Regions from separate parts of the Homo sapiens genome. Here all the other regions are linked to region 4. The links are contacts of gene promoters, found by promoter capture Hi-C in blood cells and fetal thymus (Javierre and others, 2016). All regions are on one chromosome and are shown on one strand. The core of a region is centred on a gene start or on the middle of the fragment in contact, and the rest is flanking DNA. Distances in the headings are between cores, read along the strand shown. Region 1 overlaps MED12L (mediator complex subunit 12L). Region 2 overlaps MED12L (mediator complex subunit 12L). Region 3 has its middle 220 kb from the start of MBNL1-AS1. Region 4 holds the start of SUCNR1 (succinate receptor 1). Region 5 overlaps MED12L (mediator complex subunit 12L). Region 6 overlaps MED12L (mediator complex subunit 12L). Region 7 has its middle 250 kb from the start of MBNL1-AS1.

Region 1 (2,700 bases), core at 26-2,525, 710 kb after region 4:
GGATCTTATTCTAAATATTAATCACAATCCTATGGTTCAAGTCACATAAGGCTTTGAAACAAATAACCCAGTACCAATAAGAACATATAATAATTACCAAATATCAAAACTACTACAGGAGTCATGGTCATGTATTAGAACCACCACCATAATTACAGTCTGGGTGGCAGAACTCTCAGCAAGAACTGTTCAGCAAGACAGTGAAAAGAAAGGGAGCAACTTCGAGAATTTCAGTGGTTCTGAAGAGGCTAAACAATTCTCTAAGGTCACCCAGAGTGTTAGCAGGCAAAACTGGGATAGCACCCAAGCATCTAGATACTAAAACCTGTGCTTGACCCACTGTGCCCTGATGCCTGTCAAGAATGAAAACAGCCATCAAATCACTGAAACATAAAGTCTACCTGCTGATTGAAAGCCGTGTTCCCACCCGGCATGGGGAGGCTGGACGGGGCCACCTGCAGCAGATCCAGGGGTGAGCCTGGGTTTGCGCTCTTATTTTCATTTGTGGAATAATTCCACACCAAGGCACTTGGGCAACAGAGAGTGACAGTCTGGAAATGAAACAGATAAAGTTGGATGTTCAGAGGAAGGAGAAAAGCATAACAATAGCTAAACAGTAAAAACGACACCCTGTCATCACTGTATTATTGTCTCCTACTAGTAAGTTTAAAATACGAGAGTGTCTTACCCCATTCTCAACTTCGCAATTGAGAAGACAAAACTAAAAATTATTAAGTTGAAAGGGAGGAAGTACAGCTGTTGAGAAATTAAGGAATAATTCATAAGCTAATACTCCAACAGGAACCTGAAGGAACTTAATAAAAATGCAGTAATCATCACTTAAAAATCGTCACTTAAACCAATTTTTCATGCAATTAAAAACATGAGATGAACTTATAATATGTAATTTCTAAGGCTGTAAAAGCTAAAAAAAAAGAAGTATTTAAAAACAAAAACAAAATCAAATAATCATGTAATAGTAGCTTCATAAATGGTGGGCAGGCAGTAACCCTGGACAAGGGGTTGTCAAACTTTTTCTATAAGAAGCCTGATAGTAAATGTTTTAAGCTTTGCAGGCTACCTACAGTTTTTGTCACACATTCTTCATTTTTGTTTTAATAATGCATTAAAAACATAAAACCTATTTTTACCTTGTGGGCCGAATTTGATCCACAGCCTGTAGATCTCCCTCGCCCTAGACACTTGCAGACACTCTTCACTCAACCAGAAGTACTTTATATGACCATCTTGCTTATGTGTCACAATAACCCCATGATCTAGGTAGTGTTATCCCCCACCTTTACCAAAGAGGACTATGAGCCGCGTAGATTAGTAACCAACCCAAGTTTGATTTTATTAATAGCACACATGCTCAGAACCACTATGTTATCCTGCCTCCTAAACATAGATTAAACATTATAGCTCACATTTAATTAAGCTAATTACACTTAGTCTACGCTGAACACTATCTTGGAAGCTTTCCGTCATCATAACCTTAACCCTATGAGGCAATGAAGTAAGAACTATCATTACTCCCCAACCAGACACGGGGAAACAGAGGCTCAAGGTCACCGTTACTAAGTGGCAGAGTGAGGTTTAAAATCAGGTCTGTAACAGCTTTAAAGTGTATATCTAAGCCATTATGCTCTTGTGCCATTCAACAGCAAATTTTTTTTCAAAAATATGAAATTAAGTACAAAAAGCTGGCCAGGCACAGTGGCTTGCACATATAATCCCAGCGCTCTGGGAAGCCAAGGCAGAAGGATCACTTGAGCCCAGGAGCTTGAAACCAGCCTAGGCAACACAGTGAAACCCCATCTCTAAGAAAAATTTAAAAATTAGCTGGGTGTGGTGATGCACATCTGTAGTCCTAGCTACTAAGGAGGCTGAGGGGGGAGGATCACTTACTTGAGGCAGGAGGATCACTTGAGCCCAGGAGCTCCAGGCCGCAGTGACTGAAGATTAGGCCACACTGCCCTCCAGCATGGGCAACAGAGCAAAACCCTGTCTCAATCAATTCATCAATCAATTTAAAAAAAATAAAAATAAAAAAAATAAACTCTGAGGTCTAGGAGACATCTTTGTGGAAACCAGATAGCAGATACAAAGAATGTCAAGTCCCTGAAACCTACCAATCCATCTCTTTCCACTGGGCTACATCCCTACTGCCTTCCTCATGACTGTAACAATGTGGAGTTCTCAACTCCTCCTGACAGAGCCCTTCCTTGTGTCCTTGATTCCAAAGCCCTCTAATACCCAGGGCACTGATCTATCAAACACTGCTCCTTCTCCTATTTGCTCTTAGCCCAAAAATACATTCAAATCTGCCCATCAAAATATATATATATTTTTAACTCTCCACTCAGCTGCCATCTTTATCCATTATCCATTCTCTTCTCTTCTCTTCATAAACACGTTTCTCAAAACAACAATTAGTGCTATTTCTCCTTATTCTCCATCACTCCTCGACATTCCTTAATTTGGCTCCTTATCCACCATTCAATTAAATAGCTCTTTAAAAGATCACCAATGAACACTATATTGTTAAAGACTACTTCAGCCATCTTCTTGCCAGATGTCTCCAATACTCTACACATTGCCCACTACTAATTCCTTTTTGAAACTTTCTGCAGACCCCAGTTTAGCATAGTGGTTGAGTGTGGACTCTGGATCCTGATTGCTTTGGTTTGGATTCCAGCT
Region 2 (2,700 bases), core at 144-2,643, 670 kb after region 4:
GGCCATGTTGTAGATCTTCACAACAGGGAACAACAGGCCTTAAGATGACTTTCCTCTACAAACATTACAATAGGTGATTTCAAGAAGATTCCACTGTGATTCCCATAGAAAATCTAATAAGCTTTTATTTTGTTTTTGTTTTGTTTTGTTTTTGAGGAGTCTCGCTTTTTCACCCAGGCTGGAGTGCAGTGGTGCGATCTCAGCTCACTTCAACCTCCACATCCCGGGTTCAAACAATTCTCCTGCCTCAGCCTCCCGAGTAGCTGGGATTACAGGTGCCCGCCACCGCGTTGGCTAATTTTTGTATTTTTAGTAGAGACAGGATTTCACCATGTTGGCCAGGCTGGTCTCGAACTCTTGACCTCAAGTGATCCACCCGCCTCAGCCTCCCAAAGTGCTGGGATTACAGGCGTGAGCCACTGTGCCCAGCCAGTTTATTTATTTTCTAAGCAATGGGCACTCTATCCAAACTACAGAGACAGTTAAAATCTTGTATTGTTGTTGCTGCACTACTTCTGAGTATCTCACATTTTCACTGGTAAGTAACTGTCTGGTAAAATATTTATTAAGCACTTAGTTCTCAAACTTGTGACACAGAACACAGGATGTTATTATACAATATTTTAACCTCTAATTTACATAAGCAAAAATTTTAAATAAACAGATTTGTTTCTCACTGCAATTTAGACAAAAGTTCACAAACACAAATGTGAGAAATGTGAGATGCTCCATGATTCTTGAGAATTACTGAATGATTATTCATTTCAGATAAATTATTCATGTACGGTATATATCGTCAGTTCTAGCTACAGAGAAAATTAATCAAAATAAATTACTCTAATTCTTCTCTTTACCATATACGTCTCATTGATACAACAGACTTATTTTATAGTTGTGCAAGCAATGGAGCACTTAAAGAAACACATTATGTTACCATTATTATGTAATATTTGAAATAGAAGTGCGTAAGCCAAAATCCTAGGGCCTTAGAAAGTAACAATAAGCAAAGATGTGACACTATATCAATGCACACGAATACTAGTTTTTCACATAAAGAAGAAAAGTATGTTCAAAATTCCAAGGTACAAATGGTAACTATCCAAATTCATGGTCGCCAAGGACATCGGTAAAGCCTGGAGTAGCTTTCAGATGTGAGGAGCTTCCTTAAAGCTCTGGAATAAGCAGGATTCAGGAATAGTAAGGATAAATGCAGAGCGCTTAGAAGATGACCAATAAGAACAGATCTTAGTCCTGCCTGAACATGCTGTGAAAGCTTGAGGAACACACCAGTGCCAGCCCTCAATCTCCTCAACTGACTTGGGGATTAGACTACAGGCTATCGATAAAGTTTCCATCCATCCTTAAAATCCTATGACTCCAAAATTTCTATCACATGCAAAAGTATAAAGGCAGGAAGGAACTGTACACAGAATAATAGAGACCCCACCAATCCCAATCTTAATCTGGGATGTAAGTAGAGATGGTAGAGAGAAACTAGGTTATGGAAGCTTTGAGAGCAAAGTTGGTTTAAACTTATTGGATGGGCCTAGGTTTTGTTTTTAAATGTGCGTGTGAGAGAGAGAGAGAGAGAGAGAGTGTGTGCACGTGGTTGTATGCATAGAACAGCAAAATATACGAAAAGCCTAAACTTATATTCTTAGTATTTTGGTAAAAAGTTAAAAATAGTTTATTTCAGCTTTATTACATAAAAATTGTTTAGAACATAGTTCCTGCCCACACAGTAAGCCCTTAGTAAAGACTGGCAGATATAATAATAATCATTATCATTTCTATCATCATCTTACTATTGTTACTGAGGCAGTGTTTTGGAGTGGTTTTGAATGTGATTCTGAGATCAGACTGACTGAGCTGGAATCCTGGCTTTATATCTTACCAGCTACACAACCTTGGGTAAGTAACCCCATTATGCCTCAATTTCCTCATCTGTAAAGCAGGGACAATAACAACACCTAGCTTATGGAAATGATAAGAAGTTAAATAAGTACATGTAAAGTATTTGGCATAGTGCCAGATACAAACCAACTGCTTAATTATTTTCATCGAGTTTGGTAAAGAATGACATTATTCATGGACTCTAACGTGCTAACTCAGGTAGGGAAAGAGAAAGGGCATGTAGCCTTTAAGCAGCACTTGAATTTAGAAAGCTTTGTGTACATCTGCCTTATTCATCTGTTTGCATACATTGTTTCATTACAAATGCACACAAAGGATCATTAATTAATTGGGGAAATTAAAATTTAGAAAGATGTCAGAAGTTTTATTCTCTTATTAAAAGGCACTTACAGAGTAGCTGATCTGGCCTTCAATGTTGGTCACTATAACTTATATTTGCTTCTTTTAAAAAGGTTGTATTATAATATAAAATGTTTCCTTGCTAAAATACAAAAATAATCTTCAGGTCTTTAAAACAAAAGAACACTGTTTAATGTGCAAAAGGGGGACCCACACCAACAGGCAGCACCAGAAAGATTACTAATGTACCCTTAGCTCTAAGCATGTGAGTTTGAATAGACCAGGTCAAAGGGAGCCCTATCAGTTTAACTTGAGCTTACAAACCCGCTCAATGTTCCAGATTTGGGAGGGACATGACAAGACTTCATTGTCATTATCAGTGGTGATCACAGTAGTTCTAAGGGTATGTCTTATGCTTCTGGGCTTTTAACTGCTTCAAAACCCACA
Region 3 (2,700 bases), core at 151-2,650, 610 kb before region 4:
AAACTTCATTTTTTCTAAAGAAACCACATTGATGCTGATGACGTAAAAATCGTTGGAATGGCCGCGCGCGGTGGCTCACGCCTGTAATCCTAGCACTTTGGGAGGCCGAGGCAGGTGGATCACGAGGTCAGGAGATCGAGACCATCCCGGCTAACATGGTGAAACCCCGTCTCTACTGAAAATACAAAAAAATTAGCCAGGCGTGGCAGCATGCGCCTATAGTCCCAGCTGCTGGGGAGGCTGAGGCAGGAGAATGGCATGAACCCAGAGCCAAGATGACGCCACTGCACTCCAGCCTGGGTGACAGAGCAAGACTCCCTCTCAAAAAAAAAAAAAAAAAAAAAAATGGTTGGCATGTTCCTTTCTTGAATGGCATATATTAAACATATAACTTCCCTGAATTTTCTCACCTAACACCTCAAAAAACCCACATGCCTCTTTTCTTAATCAACATGTGACTAAATGTCATCCAGTGCATCTGATCATAATACTTTGCCCTTACCAGTCTCATTACCTTGTGCCAGAAATGACAGAAGTAATACTCAGGCTTTCCATCTCTAACGGTGCCAAGTTCATGTATAGACTCTATCAACATTTGGTTTTATCTCATCTGTCTATTTCTGTGCTTGATTTGATTCTGACTAGAGCCACACAAATGCAAGAACTTATGTTAATCTATATCTATGCCTGCCATAGTCACCTGAGACTCTATTTTGTACTCTGTAACTATGGGTAGGATTTTAAAACCTCACTGGTATTTAAAAGAAAAAGAAAAGCTTATGTATTAGATGCTGTTTTAAAAGTGATTATCTCTTTCTCAGAAGCTCCTTAATTTTCAAAATGACTTTTTAGCTATATTCACTCAATGTGAATTTTAAACACAGACTTCAGAAAAATATTTACTCAGATCTCTTATTTCCTTTCACAAGTTTTGAGTTCTCTTTCTGATAGTAGGGTTCTCCCTATAAATTCAACCTAAATCTAAAATCTAACTGTGCATATATACTGAAATGTACTTACATGCTTATGTAACACAAGGGAATGAACCTATATCCAAAATTTGTTTGAATGTTGAGAATGATACACCAAGAGAGTATGAAAATGTTTATTAGCCAGGCGTGGTGTATTATTGCCACGCTGCTAATTAAGACATACCCGAGACTGGGCAATTTACAAAAGAAAGGTTTAATGGACTAACAGTTACACATGGCTGGGGAGGCCTCACAATCATGGGGGAAGGCAAGGAGGAACAAGTCACATCTTATGTGAATGGTGGCAGGCAAAGAGAGAGAGCTTGTGCAGGAAACACCCCCTTATACAACTATCAGATCTCGTGAGACTTATTCACTATCATGAGAACAGCAAGGGAAAGACCAGCCCCCGTGATTCAATTACCTTTCACCGGCTCCCTCCCACAACATGTGGGAATTCAAGATGAGATTGGCATGGGGATACAGCCAAACCATATCATGTGGTGTCTCACACCTGTGAACCCAGCACTTTGGGAGGCCAAGGCAGGTGGATCACTTGAGGCCAGGAGTTTGAGACCAGCCAGGCCAATATGGCAAAACCCCATCTCTACTAAAAATACAAAAATTAGCCGAGGATGGTGGTGTACTCCTGTAGTCCCAGCTACTCAGGTGGCTGAGGCATGAGAATCGCTTGAACTGGGAGGCGGAGGTTGCAGTGAGCTGAGATCGCACCACTGCACTCCAGCCTTGGGTGACAGAGGGAGACTGTCTCAAAAAAAAAAATAATTAATTAATTAATTAAAAGAAAAGGTTTACTACTCAAATAATGAGGCTTTTTGAGGAAGATAGATTCCAAGCAAATCCAAAAGTAGTTTGACAGAGGAGGGAAAAAAGACTAGCATGGGGTTTTTATGTAATCAGAGAGGAAGACTGAGGTGAGGATTCCTGTATGCGGCTTGAACTTCCTGCAGGTGCCAAAGGAGAAAGTATTAGGCTTTCTAATCAGGTTGCCCACATATGGGAAAAAAGAGGAAAAGGAAGAGGAGAAGCTTAAAAGTTGTTAGCAGACAAACATTAAGAAATGGAGTCATAACCTTATTGTAATACTATACTTGCACAAACATAGTAAACATTGGAATATACCTACCCACACATGCTGCCTCCTATACTGTGTAGACCCATTAGATTTCTATGTATTGCAGGGACCTAGGTTCCTGTGATCGCCCTAGGTTCATAATTCCTGCTCTCTTGTGATTCTCACTTGAACCTCCTCTCCCAAGACCGTTTGTGTCTTTGCACTTGATTTGATCAAAATGCAGAATTCTCTCCTTCTTCATGGCTGAAACAACGACTGGAACATAAATGTCCTACTTACACAAGACATTTGCATTTGCAGCATACTATTCTAAAATAGATAATTCAGAGAAATAGAGCAATAAGGAGATTATTACTTCTATTGATAAAAATGTGCCATGCCTCCTAGTAGGCAGAAGTTACTACATACATTTGCACTTTAAATAACAAGTAATTTTTTTCCTCTATGACATGAACAAAATCATTTGTCTCCCTTTGATTACATGAGATTATAAATATAAATAATTTAGTAAGCACACACACAAAGAAGTACCTGCAGACAAATGCTGACACATGGTTTGCTGATCTTGTTGGCTTCCTTACTGCCAAATGATGTAACTTCACACGATCTTGACTCAGGAGACTCAGAAATGCT
Region 4 (2,700 bases), core at 49-2,548:
TTTGTTTTTATAGTCATCACAATTAAACAAATAACATTTGTAAAATGTTTACTTTTAAGTGCTACCTTAAGGCAAATTTACATGGTAACATGAGAATTTTTTTTAACAAATTACTTTTTTGATTACTAAATAATTTGAGCAAAAATATATATTCACACTGAAAAGATATAATAATTTAACATTTGTAACTTTATTTTTATGTATTCCATACATTACACCAGAAATTAAGGTATTAAAAAGTAATAGTATGGCACAAATTGTGTATTAACTTCTTTAAGAATACCACACACATTTTGAAAAGTTATGGAAGGTAGAATAGAAATGGTTTCTGCAATTTTTCATTTTTCCTAAGTAAATTAATTATTGGGTAATATCATTTTTACACACATAAATGTTAAATTTAATTTTTAGGATGCCTGAAAATTCCCCCAAATACATTATTTTCTAAACATAAAAATATTATGCCCCAGCACAGTGGCTCATGCCTGGAATCCCAACACTTGGAGAGGCCGAGATGAGTGGATCACCTGAGGTCAGGAGTTTGAGACCAACCTGACCAACATGGTGAAACTCCATCTCTACTAAAAAATCCAAAAAAAATAGCCGGGCGTGGTGGTGGGCGCTTGTAATCCTAGCTACTCTGCAGGCTGAGGCAGGAGAATTGCTTGAACCCCAGAGGCGGAGGTTGCAGTGAGCCAACACATGCTGTAAATGTGTCACTCTGGCACTCAGACACTCTAGCCTGGGTGACAAGAGTGAAACTCTGTCTTAAAAAAAAAAAAAAAAAAAAAAAATATATATATATATATATATATGTATGTATATGTGTGTGTGTGTGTGTGTGTGTGTGTGTGTGTATGTATCAAATACATGATTGTTTCAAATCATTTAGGAACTTTAATTTTTCCCCATAAGTAGTTATATTTATTTAGGTAAATCCAATTACTATTTTGTTGAAATATAAGTTGTTGAGATGTTAGCAAATATAATAAATCCTTTTACATAAAATAAAATTAGTATTTGACAACTAAAAGAAGACAGTTAATTTGTTGAAAAATAAACGTAGAGATAAAAATGACTTTTTTTTTTCAATTATTTTGCTGTTTTACATCTATTTATAAAGAATTAATTTAAACACTTAATACTGAAAACCTTAATTGCTCACAGGTCACCTTTAGAAGGAAATCTGGCCTTACTTTATACACTGAGAGGCACAATTTGCCATGTAGCTTACCATTCTGTTGGAAGACTTGATCCCTTGACAGGAACTCTGCCAGCAGCTGGATATAGCTTCTGACCCAGTGTTGTGCCACTGGACATGGTTATTACAGTGTCCTATTTGCATATCCTATTTGCATATCCTGCAGCCAAGATTAATAATTCAAAAGCCCAGGAATAATTTATTCAGTCAAACCTCCCAGTCAGAGATGTTCATGCAGAGGAATTTTTGTGAGGCTTTTATTTTCACATTCACATTTATTTTATTTTCACATGCAGTTTTGCAATTGAATGACAAAAAACAAGTAACTCATTTCACAGGAAACACATTTACCAAATAGATTTTTAGAAAAACACTGTTGAACTTATTTTATCCACTACCAAAGCAACAGAGAAGCATTCCTTATTTTCATTTTATTTGCATATTTACACAATAAGAAGTGGTAAATACTGCTTATATTGGGAATACAGTTGCCTCTGCTTTTCTTCTTTTTTAAAATTAATTTTCTTAGTGAATTCTGTATTGAGAATATAATAACGAAACCTCTGTTTTCAATAACTTTGAGGGAACTATAAAACTGAAATTTTAAAGGGAAACCTGGATATATGCTATGTTGGTGTACTAGCAAAAAGATACTAGAGCTTCAAGTTATTTTCCATTTTATTTTCTGTGCTTAAAATCAAGAAACACATAAAAGATACATCAGATAGCTAGGGATTAGGGAGAGAGATGCTAAGTAAAATAACCTTAATAGATGGCAATTTATATATCCCAATCAATGCTCTGAAAAACATCTGGAAGTACATTACCACCATTTCAGACAGGAAGCACACCTGGCTTTTTCCAAGCATTATATTAGGTTTAGATTCAAGTAAACACTCAGTCTTCTTGATGTGAAGCATAGGGATTATACTAAGAAAGCCCATAATTGTGCAGGCAGCAGTAATTCAATTTAAATGCTATGTAAGTTGAATATTGAGTTAGCAATGACAGGCAGAAGCCCAAAAAGAAGCTCTGTTACAGGCATCCTCCTAACTAAGCATTTCTCCTCACCAATATCTGACAGCTTAAAAACTCAGGAACTCAAAATATATGTATGTATATATACACATACATATATACATACATATGTGTCTATATTACACACTTTATATACATGTGTAAAATATATTTATACATGTATGAATATTTATGTATACAAACATGTGCATTTACATGAAATAAAAATATCTATAATTTGTTGAGTTCTTGTGATGTGGCAGGCAGGTATTACACTAAGTACCTTTATGCATCAAATGCATATAGTAATCCTCTGAGGTTGTTATTATTTAAGATTTTTCTCATTTTGCAGATTAAAAAGCTAAGGTTCAGAGAGGTCAATTAACTTTCTCAAGATTGCAGAATCAATAACGGGAGGGACCAGAGCTTAAGCCTATGTACTTGGATTCTAAAAGCACCGACTCTGATTCTTGACTGCCTAC
Region 5 (2,700 bases), core at 82-2,581, 690 kb after region 4:
ATTCTACTATAAGAATCTTCCTTATGTGAATTTTTACATCCTCCCTTTTTTCCTCAAGAGCAAAAGAATAACATAATGAGGGTAAGAGAAAATGATCTTCCCCAAAACAGTATTTTTACATTACGGCATTCAACAAGCAGAAAGAAAATGGAACCTACCTCTGCCTCAATTTCTGCTTGCCTCTTCTCCAGGAGTTTTGCCACAGCCATGGCCCTGTGCTTGCCAGACCGTTTGCAGCTCACGGCCCATTCACATAACAGCGTCACCACAGCTTCATCGTTGGGCGCAACCTAATGACCAACAGAGAGGGGTACCAGCCACATCAAATGAAACATTCACCCAGCAAGAGGCAGGAAGCAAGCAAGGGAATATCTAACACTTTAAAGCTTTTTTCCATGTTTTATTATAGTAGCTTTAGAAAGCGCTTCCAAAACATTTTTAATTGAAATACAAAAAATAAACCTATACAAGGAAAGAAATCACTTATGCTGAATCTGTGACAATTCCAAAAGAATTAGAGCTTCCCTGTGGATGCCTTCACTTACACAGGGACATAACCTAGCCCCAGCTACCCTCTAGAACTCAAATTTCAAAACCAAATAGTAAGGGAAAAAAACAACCACTGACTGTCAAGAACAGCTGTCACAAAGTCAAAGTACATCACTCTACTGTTGGCACCCTCAGGCCCCCCACTCACTCAATGCCTCATACAATAAATAATTCTGACAAGCCAGGTTATCCAGTGACCCACTCCAATACAAAATTAGAAGGAACAAACCAGAGGGGAGGCTGGAACGCTGGTAAAACACCCGTCCCAATGGAAATAACAAACACGAAAAATGACAGCCCAGCACCAAAACGAACCAACAATTAAGGGCAGACACAGTCAACCAAGGACAGCAGCCGGGTCTAGGTAGGGCTCAGCATGGTGACCAGAACTGTCAGCCACAGTTGTCATGGCCTAGAAATAGGCACCAGCGACTGAGGATGAGAGGATGTTGGGGACCCAAATGACATGAGTCGCGGATAGGGGTGCAGCGAGTGGTGAGCGGGGAGATGGTACTTCCGTGTGATCTGTCCTTTCCTTTTAGAGGGTCCACGCCAACCAATAGGACATCAACTACAAGTTTTTAATATGTCCCCATGGGGATAAACATGATGCCAGAAAAACTAGATAATCGCAGCATTAGCACTACAGGCTATGAAGGAAGTTAATACTGTAGAATCCATAAACTCAATTAAGATTACGATATGGCTATGAGCACACGCCATGGAAGAACATACATACATACATGCATGAACTTAGCACATTTCGGAATGTCTGTGCAGTCTGAAAAGCCATCCAAGAATCCCAGAATAAGTATCCCTGATCAGCTGTAGATGCTAGCAAACAATTCAGATCATGAAAATCAGTTTATTCCAAGATTTTTATTCATCATACCCTAAATTTTGTCATTTAAACACATGGTTACTCAAACCAAAGAAATGAGTTACCTGAGGCAGATACCTCAAAGGGAGCTCTGTTTTCCTAATTTAAAACAAGAGAAGTAACTCAATTGAAAGAAATGTTTGAACATAACATTTAAAACAGAAAGTAAACTGGGAGGACTTTCTGCCCAGATTCACTCTAACCTATATGAACATAAAAATATAAAAGTCAATCCAGTGAAGGACCACATGCTTATAGGTTTAGAATATTAAAGATAACAAAAAGAGTTACCCTAAAAATACTGCTTTCAGTTTTTATTAATCTAAGCAGTAATATGCTTCATATCCACATTTACACAGATTTTTTTTTCTCCTGCATCTTCAGGATTACACTAAAATGTGCTACAAGAAACAGGTGATTTTAAAATTTAAAAACTTCTTTTCCCACTGAAGATTTTATGTGAGATTTAATATCTATGTGAAATTAGGGAGACATATAGAAGAACTGTATGTGATCAGTAATGTCTCAACACCTACGTGGGAGAACAGATTTCTTCAGATCTACTGAATAAACTACAACAAAAGAGAAGTCAAAACAAATCACATTACCACATCCCTTTTATAAACCAAAACAACAGCTAGTGTGCCCACATCATCTCTGAGAAAACAAACACAAACTCATCACACACGACACTCTGAAGATCAGCAAACCAAGCACGGTGTACACACAGCACACACGATTCTGAAAAGGCAGGAGAAAGACAAATCTCATCTGGGCACCCATAATGTGCATGAGCGTTCAGTGCTGCTAGGGATAGGAAGGCACATTTTCTTGCTTAAGAAGCTTACACTCAAGAGATAAGAAGGAAACAGCAAACACAGAGCAGAATAAGAGGCTCTATACACTGCACATCCACAGGGACAATCCAGGGAAGGTTTTACGAGAGGCATGGTCTTGAACCTTCATATAGTCACACTGTTAACTAGGGTTTTATCCAGAGAGAGGACTACAGGAGATTTTTATTTTCTGCTTTTATCATGCAAAAGAAAAACACTGTTTGTTTTGGGGAAAAAAATGTAAATTGGGCCTTGGAGGAAAAATATCAGATTTCTGATAAATAGAAAAAAAATGTAAAGGACAGAAAAGACCTATCTAAACATAGTGGAAATCATATGCTCTCCTGAAGCCTTGGGGTATAACATCCACTTACACAACTATGTGCTAGGCACTGTGTTCTGCCCTATTTATACATATGATCTCATTTTACCCTT
Region 6 (2,700 bases), core at 8-2,507, 640 kb after region 4:
CTTCACCAAGTATTTCCAATTCCCTTTCCAAAGTGATAGACTTTTTAAATTTCTCTACTCAGCATTATGTTTTAAAGTCCTAAAAGATTACATATAGCATGAACAATTTTTACAAAGGAATGTATGTACACATGGACTAAAATCATTAGTTTTAAAAGGGAGGAAATAAAAAACACACAATTCAGGACAGAGTTACCACAAGGCGGAGAAAGGCGGATGGCAGAGGAGGAACAGGAACGATCCAAGAATGCCTGTGGGACTCTCGCTCTCAAGTCGGTGCTGTGTTTTTGTTTTTGTTTTTTTGAGACGGAGTTTCACTCTTGTTGCCCAGGTTGGAGTGCAATGGCACGATCTCGGCTCACCACAACCTCCGCCTCCCGGGTTCAAGTGATTCTCCTGCCTCAGCCTCCCGAGTAGCTGGGATTACAGACACCTGCCACCACGCCCAGCTAATTTTGTATTTTTAGTAGAGACAGGGTTTCTCCATGTTGGTCAGGCTGGTCTCAAACTCCCCACCTCAGGTGACCCGCCAGCCTCGGCCTCCCAAAGTGTTGGGATTACAGGCGGGAGCCATCACGCCCGGCCCAGTGCTATGTTCTTTTTGTTGTGCTTTAACTTATACTACATGTAGTCTTTTCAAAGTATCAAACATTCCATTGAAAAGAAAGACTATATTTAAAAGCAATTAACACTGTCTGTGTTTGGTAAAACACAAAACTCAAAATGAATGGTAGCTATTGCTACAGAATGTGATGAGAATAAGAGATGACAAGACAGCGTAGCTCAAGGTGAGGCATGACTAAACTCAGAGGGCACGAGAGTGCTACCCTGTGGAGGTGAGGCAGCCGGGCTCGTCAACATCCAGAGCTGCAAATGACCCAGATCTGCAGAAACTAGAGATGTTCAGGGGAGGAGGGGAAAGAAATGGGGCTGCTCAGATGCCAGAACAGCAGGCTCTGAGCTCCAAGAGGGCAGGGACAATGTTGGTGTTTTTTTATTGCTTTATCACCAATAGCACATACACTGTCTGGTAATAGCTGTTAGAAGAATATTTGAAAGGTGAAAAGAAAATTTTGTTTTACAGATGATGGTTTTAAACAATATTAAAAAAAATTTAGTTTCAAGGGTACATCTGAAGGTTATATAGGTAAACTCATGCCACAGGGATTTGTTGCAGATTTTTTTGTCAGGTACTAAGTCTAGTACCCAATAGTTATCTTTCTGCTCCTCTCCCTCCTCCCACCCTCCATCCTCAAGTAAGCCTCAGTGTCTACTGTTCCCTTTGTGTCCATGAGTTCTCATGATTTAGCTCCCACTTATAAGTGAGAACATGTGGTATTTGGTTTTCTGTTCCTTTGTTAGTTTACTAAGGATAATGGTTTCCAGCTCCATCCATATTCCCACAAGACATGATCTCATTCTTTTTTTATGGCTGCATAGTATTCCATGGCATATATGTGCCACATTTTCTTTATCCAATCTGTCACTGATGGACATTTAAGTTGATTCCATGTCTTTGCTATTATGAAATAGTGCTGAAATGAACATTCATGTGCATGTGTCTTAATGGTAGGATGATTTCTATTCCTCTGGGTTTATACCCAGTAATGGGATGGCTGGGTCAAATGGTAGTTCTGTTTTCACACCAATCAGAATGGCTATCGTTAAAAAGTCAAAAAATAACAGATGCTGGCAAGGTTGCAGAGAAAAGAGAACACTTCCACACATTGGTGGGAGGGTAAATGAGTTCAACCATTGTGGAAAGCAACACTGTGATTGCTCAAAGAGCTACAAACAATGTTTTAAGTAAAGACTACTTTGGCATAGAGGAGTATATAGAAAGAGAAAAGAAAATGGCCAAGAATAGAACAAGAAACATCAATTTTAAGGATGGGCAGAGGAGACCCCACAGGAAAGTAAGAAGGAAAGGTAAGAAAAATAGCAGAGACACCCAGGAGACTGTTATTAGGCATTCGTTACCTGTCAGGCACGGAGCACAGGACCCTTCCCTCAAAACCAACACACACACGTGTGTGTATACATGTATATGTGCATATAGGCATGCATATATCAGCAAAAAAAGCCCATGAATACACAAGTTTATACAAACATACAAACATAACACTTTGTTTTCTTGTACTGAAGTACTTTCAAAATAAGTTGCAGGTAATCATGACCCTTCCCTTCTAAATACTTCAATAAGCATCTCTAAATACTCTCTCGCTTAACCACACCATCAATATTTCTGGGAAGATTATTACTCAGTAATATTACCTAATCTAGAATCTGTATTCAGAGTTATACAACTGTCTCAAAACAATTTGTATGGCTATTCCCTCCAGCCAACAATCACCACTCATTAACGGTGTTATTTCTCTTTGGCCTGTTTTAATCTACGACTGTCCCCTTCCAGCCCATCATGTTTGTTTCTCGTGGCATTGATTTTTTTAAAGAGTCCAAGGCTGGTTGCTTTATCAAATGTTTCATATTCTAAATTTGTCTGATTGCTCATTGAAGATTTTTGATACAGTTTATTACAAAAGTATGTTGTGTACATCTAACTAAATCATATCAGGAGGCATACGATGCCAGATTATCTCACTTTTGGTAAGTTGGATCATTCAGTGACCACCAGATCTCTCTGCTTCAGAGGTATACTTTTTATTACTCTAAATGATGGGGGAGTATGTTTTCAGACTG
Region 7 (2,700 bases), core at 76-2,575, 650 kb before region 4:
TCTCCACCGAGAAGAGGGTTGTCAGGTGGCTAAAAATCACCCAACTCCTTGGGCTCAGAAGAAATACTTTATAAACTGAACATTCTGTAACAATTTGGCTTCAAATGTAAATCAGTCTTTTGGGAAGAAATTATGGTCTTCTGTGAAGTCTGGTATTTTTGTCTGTTTGATAATTAATCTTATTTGTCCTTGTAAAATAATAAATTTGAATTATCTGGAAGCCAAGCTTTCTCTCAACTGATATTACTGAAGGATTTCATTCACTTATTATTTCAAATGGAATAATGATATGATTTCATAAACCAAGTGCATATTTTATTTTCTTGTTTACGGGATGCACTTCCTAATACTCATGAAATATTTGGCAAACTGTGAAATGTAATGTTTATGTGCAGGTGCTCATCAGATGGTATATAGCCTGAAGACCAAACATTTATGTGAGGCAACAATATTGATCTTATTCTGATATTTCAGTCTGGTTCTGTCATCTTCAAAATATGCCTGACAAAAGAAGTTTTGAAAGTGAATCTGTAATAATTGTCAAATAACAGTGTCCTACAATGTATTAAAACTTTCCACTTTAATTAGTGACCATTTTTGAGATTTCAAGTACATGCAGGTGTTTGAAATGTAGGAACTGGAAAATTATCAGCAAGGTTGAAATAATGATTAGAGCTAACGTTCATTATGTTTTTTTCCATGTGTCAGGTACTGTATAAAGCAGTTTATATGGATTAGCTTATTTAATTTTTAACACAATTTTGTTATTTTGGCCATTAAATAGAAGACAAAACTGAGCCAGTGACAGGCCAAGTAACTTGACCAACTTCATAAAGCTAAAAAATTGTGGGCTAGGAGTTAGACCTAAGCAAACATAGTCAAGCTGTTTAATACAGTATACATGTTAGATATTGCATTGCCTAAATGAATGGCAAATAATGCATAATCATTAACTAAAGAAGGTATCTGCTGGTTAGTGAGAGAATTTGTCTATTTTCTATTAACGAAGTTTCTAAATTTGAAATAACAATTAAGTGAGGTTTAAAACGGTCAGTTTTACTCCTTTCCAGATCTCTAAATTCACTAGCAACTTCCCTCAAACAAATATCATTTTTTTTTGCATATTCCTGCAAGAATAGTCTATTCAAATATAAATAAGTATAATATGTATGTTTTTTACACAAATAAGACATTTAGACACTGCTCTGTATCTTCAGTTTTTTTCACTTAACAATGTACCTGGGAAATGATTCTATATTAACATGATAGATCTAGGTTTGTTTTTAATTAGAAACTTATCAGCTTACCACTATGAAAAATAGTGGAGTTCTCAAAAATAGCAGAACCTTCTTTTTTTCAAGCCTGCAAAATGAAATATAAGAGAGGAGAAAAAGCATTTTATCTCTCACCCATAGACTGGTCTAAAATTTTCATTTTACAGACAGAGAAAATAATACTAGTTAAGCCATGAGACCAAGTTTAAGGATGCTATTTCTCAAATTACTAAATTCTTTTCTAAGGGTTACTATTATAATTTTAGTTTCAAAGAGGACTTTCATTTGTTTTATAAACATTTTCCATTTTCACCCCTCCCTTATGTGTTTAAAAAAGCAAATTCCAATTAGTCACCAGACGACTGAATCACAAAATCTCCTTATCCATTCTGTAACAAATCAAGAAATGCAATGCTATGCTCATCAAACATTCTGAGAATCTTAAAACCACATTATATTAGTTTTTATTCAATAATTGTGGTTATATGTTTGTGTGCTTGTCATTCTACATTCAATAATTTGAATAGCCAAAGCCCTTGAGGGTCAAATTTGGATTTTTCTTGGTTTTACTGGCTCTTTCTCATTGTGGCCTTATGCCTTCTATGCTTTGTAATTTGGATTGTGAATTTACTTAAATGACTAGCTTCATCAGTGGGAATTCAATGAGGTCTCTGATGACTGGGCATCTCTTTAGAGAGTATTTGCTTTGGTTTCTACCAGGTGTTCTGAGTTTCTATCAGTCTAGAACCACATAAAGTCAATTGTCTGGTTTGGGGTTTATCAGACATTACAGATAAGTGAAAGATGAATCCCAACCCCCAAGATTACTTTTAACCCAGAGGCTACACCAAGAGTGATTGATTTCCTTATTATTTCTCTTTGCTGGGGAGCAGATTTTACAAGTCTATTATTCTTTGAGAATGTGGCCTTTTATGGCTCTCAGGTGTATATGGATCCCCTGCTCAAAATCTCCGTTTTTGAGTGTACTAAGACCTCATTTCCTGTCCTATGTGGAGCTGCAAAAAGCCAAGGCATTGGGACATAGAGATTTGAAGATATACTCATCAGAGATGATGTCAGGTGTTATGATAGCCTACTTTGTTTCTCATTCTGTGGGAATGTCCTTCTACATCTTATGAATCAAGCTTTGCATTTGAAAATAAGGTGATCATATTTTACCCAACATACATAAAAAGTTTTAGAGTGGGAGATTTTTCAAAAAGTTAGTTATATAACTTTACTAAAAACAGAAGATCCAAAAAGTCTTTAGGTTGCTTTTTTTTTTTTTTTTTTTTTTTTTTTTTCATGAATCTGCTAACCTCTGGCCATCGGATGAACTTCTGAGAATAGCACTCTAATGCCCCCCTTTCCGATATTATATTGTAAAGTATAGTAAATATTGTGCACTAGACAACAATGGATGGAT

What was found. Contacts are between HindIII fragments. The CHiCAGO score rates a contact against its expected background, and 5 or more counts as called.
Region 1: a fragment that was not itself captured here is called in contact with the fragment with the promoter of SUCNR1 in region 4 in 1 of 17 cell types (monocytes); the score reaches 6.4 in monocytes.
Region 2: a contact is called between a fragment that was not itself captured here and the fragment with the promoter of SUCNR1 in region 4, in 1 of 17 cell types (fetal thymus). The highest score is 5.5, in fetal thymus.
Region 3: a contact is called between a fragment that was not itself captured here and the fragment with the promoter of SUCNR1 in region 4, in 1 of 17 cell types (activated CD4 T cells). The highest score is 5.9, in activated CD4 T cells.
Region 5: a fragment that was not itself captured here is called in contact with the fragment with the promoter of SUCNR1 in region 4 in 1 of 17 cell types (M2 macrophages); the score reaches 6.0 in M2 macrophages.
Region 6: a fragment that was not itself captured here is called in contact with the fragment with the promoter of SUCNR1 in region 4 in 2 of 17 cell types (monocytes and M2 macrophages); the score reaches 6.6 in monocytes.
Region 7: a contact is called between a fragment that was not itself captured here and the fragment with the promoter of SUCNR1 in region 4, in 2 of 17 cell types (total CD4 T cells and fetal thymus). The highest score is 5.5, in total CD4 T cells.

The regions. Positions count from the first base shown.
Region 1 is chr3:151,161,744-151,164,443 of GRCh38, reverse strand. It overlaps MED12L (mediator complex subunit 12L), which reads right to left. Exons shown (of 45, transcript NM_001393769.1): 9 at 402-551. Among named protein-coding and RNA genes, the nearest start is that of GPR171, 40 kb to the left of the region's middle. The HindIII fragment of the contact is 409 bases long and covers 1,071-1,479 here.
Region 2 is chr3:151,200,120-151,202,819 of GRCh38, reverse strand. All of the region lies in intron 16 of MED12L (mediator complex subunit 12L), which reads right to left. GPR171 (G protein-coupled receptor 171) reads left to right here. Exons shown (of 3, transcript NM_013308.4): 2 at 1,823-1,911. Among named protein-coding and RNA genes, the nearest start is that of GPR171, 1.7 kb to the left of the region's middle. The HindIII fragment of the contact is 235 bases long and covers 1,276-1,510 here.
Region 3 is chr3:152,486,498-152,489,197 of GRCh38, reverse strand. No RefSeq gene overlaps it. Among named protein-coding and RNA genes, the nearest start is that of MBNL1-AS1, 220 kb to the right of the region's middle. The HindIII fragment of the contact is 1,244 bases long and covers 779-2,022 here.
Region 4 is chr3:151,872,241-151,874,940 of GRCh38, reverse strand. SUCNR1 (succinate receptor 1) reads right to left here and starts at 1,298. Exons shown (of 3, transcript NM_033050.6): 1 at 1,235-1,298. The region is part of intron 1 of AADACL2-AS1 (AADACL2 antisense RNA 1); the gene reads left to right. The HindIII fragment of the contact is 8,098 bases long and covers 1-2,700 here.
Region 5 is chr3:151,182,920-151,185,619 of GRCh38, reverse strand. It overlaps MED12L (mediator complex subunit 12L), which reads right to left. Exons shown (of 45, transcript NM_001393769.1): 12 at 159-290. Among named protein-coding and RNA genes, the nearest start is that of GPR171, 19 kb to the left of the region's middle. The HindIII fragment of the contact is 1,886 bases long and covers 389-2,274 here.
Region 6 is chr3:151,231,337-151,234,036 of GRCh38, reverse strand. All of the region lies in intron 16 of MED12L (mediator complex subunit 12L), which reads right to left. All of the region lies in intron 1 of P2RY14 (purinergic receptor P2Y14), which reads left to right. Among named protein-coding and RNA genes, the nearest start is that of GPR171, 29 kb to the right of the region's middle. The HindIII fragment of the contact is 3,000 bases long and covers 1-2,700 here.
Region 7 is chr3:152,518,831-152,521,530 of GRCh38, reverse strand. No RefSeq gene overlaps it. Among named protein-coding and RNA genes, the nearest start is that of MBNL1-AS1, 250 kb to the right of the region's middle. The HindIII fragment of the contact is 2,193 bases long and covers 229-2,421 here.